2 separate regions of the Homo sapiens genome follow, and region 1 is linked to region 2. Evidence: promoter capture Hi-C in human tissues and cell types (Jung and others, 2019). All regions are on one chromosome and are shown on one strand. The core of a region is centred on a gene start or on the middle of the fragment in contact, and the rest is flanking DNA. Distances in the headings are between cores, read along the strand shown.

The links. The method cuts DNA at HindIII sites, captures the fragments that hold promoters and counts their contacts. A contact is called where the count stands out against the background at its distance.
Region 1: a contact is called between a fragment that was not itself captured here and the fragment with the promoter of MGP in region 2, in 2 of the 25 tissues and cell types used here (bladder and hippocampus).

What each region holds. Positions count from the first base shown.
Region 1 is chr12:14,836,663-14,839,483 of GRCh38, forward strand. All of the region lies in intron 2 of ART4 (ADP-ribosyltransferase 4 (inactive) (Dombrock blood group)), which reads right to left. Among named protein-coding and RNA genes, the nearest start is that of ART4, 5.5 kb to the right of the region's middle. The HindIII fragment of the contact is 5,545 bases long and covers 1-2,821 here.
Region 2 is chr12:14,884,599-14,887,513 of GRCh38, forward strand. MGP (matrix Gla protein) reads right to left here and starts at 1,256. Exons shown (of 4, transcript NM_000900.5): 1 at 1,133-1,256. The coding sequence starts at 1,193. The HindIII fragment of the contact is 8,639 bases long and covers 1-2,915 here.

The DNA of each region.
Region 1 (2,821 bases), core at 94-2,593, 48 kb before region 2:
GTAGAACCAGAGGATGGACCAGCCTTCTCTGCAACCCTTAGTCAGAGTCTGGGATCAAAGGAAGAAAGGCATCCCTGCAATGTGAGCTTATTCCTCTCCTTCTTTTACCTTCCCAGATAGTTTCGTAGCTGTGGAGGGTGAGAAAATGCTCCAATTCCAGCTCTTGGCTGATTATATGATGCCTCTGACCTATCTCTTCCCTCTTCACTTCAATTTATAAAGAAAATATTAAGTTGAGAACTTTAAACTTTTCATTCAAAGGAGGCACTTTCTCTTGGGCATATCTGAATCACCAAGATCACTATTCTTGCACTTTGGGGCCATTATGAAATAAAATGAGGGTCACTTGAAAACAAACACTGCAATACCGAGACAGCAGATCTGATCACTGAGAGGGCTACTAAGTGACTCACAGTGTAGACTGTGGATCCCCCAAACAACGGGATGATTCACATCATGACCAGTGGTATTTTTATTCTGCCGTTTACAAGCTTTTCTGCATGGCCACACAAGCTTCTAATTGATAAATTTCTGGGAAAAATTTAGTTACGGTAACTCACATTGCAAGTGACCATGTTGATCATTTACATTGTGACAACAGCTTACTTTTGACTAGGGGTTGAAGCTTCTAGAATATCTTCCCTTCTTCAAATATTGGAACTGTTTTTAATTAATTGTGTTAGATGGTCATGTAGTCTAAGGCTCAGATTGCTTAGAGGTATATTCACCATCATTCATTCACTCATTCAACAAAATAGGCTGGGCACTTCTATGTGCCAGAGGACTGAAGTTAGTAATAGCTAACACTAATTTACCATTATTATATGCTATAGAATATATAAATAATTTTATTTATTTATTTTTCTTTTAAGATGGAGTCTCACTCTATCGCCCAGGCTGGAGTGCAGTGGCATGATTTCAGCTTACTGAAACCTCCGCCTCCTGGATTCAAGCGATTCTCCTACCTCAGCCTCCTCAGTAGCTGGGACTGCATGTATGTGCCATGATACCTGGCTACTTTTTGTATCTTTTTGTAGAGACGAGGTTTCACCATGTTGGCCAGGCTGGTCTCAAACTCCTGGCCTCAATTGATCCACCCACCTCGGCCTCCCAAAATGCTGGGATTACGGGTGTGAGCCACCGCACTTGGCCAATAATTTTACATTTTATTTCATTTTCACAAAAGTCTTCTGAGGTTCTGTTACGATAATTATTAGGTAGATGAAAAAAGAGTTTAAGCAACTTGACCAAGAACACATAGCTATTAAGTGGTACAGTGGGATATAAATTCAAACAGAGTGGGTCTGGGCTCAAACTGCCTGCCTGCCTAGTTCTCAAATACTAGTTCCTCAAATACTAGTCGAGTTCCTGCCCCCAGGGAGCTTATAGAGCGACACAAGATTATTGATTCCCTTAAGTGTGATTGGTGATTCCAAATATTTCATTAAGACCAACCGAACTGTCAGAATTTAGTGATCTATGTGGCTACCCCAGCTAAACCTTAACTCAAAACTAAGTTAAAGTTGCATTTGGGTAGTTTCGCCATAGGAAAGCAAAGATCATTAATTTGGGTGGGGGTGTCCTGAAATATTTTTCTTTGAGGTTTATAGAGTGGCAGAATGTGAGTAATGGTTTATATTATATACTCCTTTCCCTCAGTTTCCCACTCAATGCTTAATATAAATCTTCTGTAATTTTTCATTGAATATATTTTACTGTGCTTACTATCCTAGTGAAGAATTATATGTTCCAAATTCATGATGAGAATGAAGTAATCATATCCTAGTCAGGTGTAGTTCCAAAGAATCCTGGAACCTGGCTATGAATGTTTTCATTTATTATCAAAATCTCACTGTTTTCTTCATATTCTACTATAGTTTTTCATCCTCTACAAACACTAATCTCCTGTGTCTGTGGGGCAGATACTCATTTCACTCGTTTTGCTGCCATGTTTCCAAGGTGACATGTGAGGAGATGAAAGTATTGATAGGTCTCCTCTCCCTGGTCTGTATTTATGGCTAGGACAGAGTGAGCAGATTCTAGACCTCAGTGTGGATGCCAGTTTGAACACTTTTGCAACACTACTGCCCTGAAATGTTGAGAAATGCTGAGAGCCTGAATTATAAATCATAGCAATAATGATAAAGCGAAGACAAATTTGGGGATATATTGAAGGTAGACCCTGCAACTGGGTTCCAGCTGACTGTGAGTGTGAATAAATTTACATATGAACAGTCTTTTTTTTTTTTTTTCTGAATCAAAAAGGGCACAGGATTTGCTACACAACTACCCCTCCATGAAATGGCTAGGTGGCAACATAAAATTCAATCAGCCATGTTTTTCTTAAAAAAAGTTTAACTTTTTTTTGTATTTTGATATCTCTAAATTTTCCTGCTTCAGTTCATTTTTCACAGTGTCATCAGAGCCCTTTCTAAGATGTTGACCAAATTGATTTCTACTCCTTAAAAACTTCTAATTACTTCTTATTACCTACAGCATAAAATTAAAAGGTCCTTAGCATGAAATACAAGACCTTTTATAATGAAGCCCCATCAGAATTCTCCTACCTGGATAAATCCCCTCCTCCCTTCCTACTCCTATTCTTTTCCCATATCCTACACATCCTACACACCAGCCATCCAGAATTTCAGAGTCCCTGAAGACACCAGGCTGTTTGAAATCCTTGTGATTAACATATGCTGTGTCTTAGTCTGTTTTCTGTTGCAATAACAGAGTATCACAGACTGCGTAATCTGTAAAGAAAATAAATTTATTTCTCACAATTCTGGAGGATGGGAAGTCCAAGAGCATGGCTCCAGCA
Region 2 (2,915 bases), core at 6-2,505:
CTTCTCTGATTTATTCAGAGCCTGTTTGAGAACAGGGTCAAAGAGGATTAAGAAGGATCCAGAAGACAGCCAGGTTTCTCCAGGCAAGAGAACTACAGGGCAGTTGCTCTGCTGGGCTTACTAGGGCAGGTTTCTAAGAGGGTTCCGAAAGCCTCTTAAGAACCTGTGTTAAATTGGCAGCCACAGAAACCACTAGCTCCAGCTGACAGCTCACCCTGGGCACGATGCCAGTTCAGAGAGAGAACTGAAACGATATCAAAGCCGAAGTTTTCTTCTTTCTGCCACTCTCCTGAGCACAGCAGATAAATTTTGGAATAAGAAGCTTCTATTAATATTTGCCAGCAAGTGAATTTTCTTCAAAACTTAAAAAGGAGGTGAAGAAATCAAATCCTCTAATACAGAAAATTTGTGAATACAAGAGTGAGAAGCATAATCTTTATGGTTGTTAATGTAATTTAAATTTTAAAACAATGAAAATATCTAGGTAATTGAAACAAAAGACTGAAATAAGTAAATAACTTTGCTTCAGATTTCCTTTTATAAGCTTTGAACAAATGCAGGTATATTTAATGACATATAGAAAACAGGCAAAATTTATTTTCTGACAACAGGAGTTATGAAAATGATTCTTTTCTAAAATTCTTTTGATGTAAAACTTTATTTTAAAATTAATTAACTGAACAAACATAGTAAGTTCATGAGATTGTCCAGTCCCTAGAAAGGGCTATACTTAATACTTCACATAAAAATGGATTTTCTCAAAGGCAAGTGGTTTAAACAATACCCTTAACCCATTGATACCAAAGTCTAAATAAATATCCTTAAAAATGAGGATGCAGGGGGCTGGGAATTTGGTATCTTCTTTCTGAAATATGAGTTTCTAGATATACAGAGACTTACCACTGAACGGGTTTGCCTGTTAAGTTGCATAAGACTCTGGATATTTAGGATATAAAAAAGACTTAATAGAACAGATCAGTTTCTGCGGAGACTGGGAAATGTGAAAGTAATGGTACTTTAAGATTATAACAGAGAAAGGGGGAAGAAGAGGAGGAGGGAGAGGAAAAATAGAAGTAAGCCAAAGTCAGAGGCAGAAAAGTAAACACAGAGAAATGGGAGAAAAGTTTCTCACCATAACACAAAGTTACTACCGCTAAGGCGGCCAGGATGGCAAGAAGGATCAGGCTCTTCATGGTTTCGTCCTGCAGGTCAGTCTCAGGGTCTTGTGTAGCAGCAGTAGGGAGAGAGGCTCCTACGGGATGTTAGTGGAAGGCTGTGAGGTTTTTATAAGAACCAGAGCAGTTGAGAGGGGAGGAACCAGTGGGAGAGAGCTGGAGAAGGTGGGGAAGGGTTGGCACTGAACTAGCATTGGAACTTTTCCCAAACAGTCATTCCTTCCAGATATTATCTACTCTGAGTGGGCAGTTTTCCCTAACTGCTGGACCTGACTGTGTTACACAGGATGCTGCTCTGGTGCAGAAGTTTTGGCCATCGTATGCTTGGGGACAGACCTGGGCAAAAGCCCACAGAGGAAGTTGCCACAAACACATGATCTACCCTCCTGGCCCTGACCGCAGGGCTTTTGGGTTTGGTCCACAGACAGAGCCCTAGTGTTCTGTTTGTTACCCTGATTGATTGATGAGAGGTTTTGGGGGAGAAAGGACTTCACTTTCTTTTCTTTTCTTCTTTTTAACCTTTGCCTCTTCTTCTAGGAGAACTTCGCTTTCTACACTGATTATAATTTAGACATCTTCCCAGTAGGGCTGAATCCTAGACCAATCTATCAATCCCAGACTAATCAGGCATTTGCCTGGGGATATGCATCTTTGGCATTTTTCCAAGGGTTCATCAGGATGGAGATATCCGGTGCACCATGAGTTCTGTTTCCTTAATCAACACCGTTGTAACTTGCCCATCCAGTTTTGTGACATTAATTCAAACCTGTGCCCTAGTCCTCTTTTAGGCAGCGTATCAGTGCTGGAAAGTGCAGCAAGGATAAGAGGGTACTGTTCTCTCATTTCTGAGGGCGTTGTCTCGATAATTAACTAACTTGATAGACTTTTTAGTGAGTGGCAGGTGAGATGCAAGGTACTGTGCTAGGTGCTGTGGGGGATGTACAGACAAACAACACACCTCCCTAAGGAGGTAAGTAATAGCTACTTACTATTCACTTTGCTCTTTCACTGTAATGTATCCTCAAGCACAGGTTTTCACTACACCATCAGGCCCAGAAGTACTAGCTTATTTTCCACAGGAGGATTTCAGTTTGATGCCTCTGGTTATCTTGTATAGAGAGGTCTTTTCTTTCTTTCTTTTTTTCCCCCTTCTTTTGCAATCACAAAATCTGTCCTACCAGATGTGCCTCTCTTGCTTGGGAACCCAATAGTTTTCTTTGCAGACAACAGACTTGAAGTCACAGAGCAGCAGATTGTAGAAGAGCTACAGCTTCGGGACCTCTGACTCTTGAGCTGGAACAGCAATAGGGCTGGGTTGGGGGTGGGGTGGATGTGTCTTTCAATACTGATGTATTTCAAGGAGCAGTGATGAACTAGGTGGAGCCTCATGCTTCATTCTTTTTGTCTTGTTGGGATGGAGTTTCCCTCCCACCCTCCATCCTGTGAAGAGCTTTTATAAATATTAACAGAGTCCCCATTAAAAGAAATAGCTCCTTTGAAATCTGAAAGATTGAGTTCTGAGGGATCAATAAAATTCAAGTTTTCTCTCCAAAACCTAAGAAATAGATTATCTGTGCGAAAATCTTAAAGAAAATCTCAGAAAGAAGACCGTGTATGTTCATCCTTGATAAATTCAACCATCACAATTTCCACTAATGAGACTGGCGGTTGTTCCACTCTTTAAACCACAACCTACTATGAGTGTTAGTTTCAGTGTCCATCTTGGAAGATGAATCATCT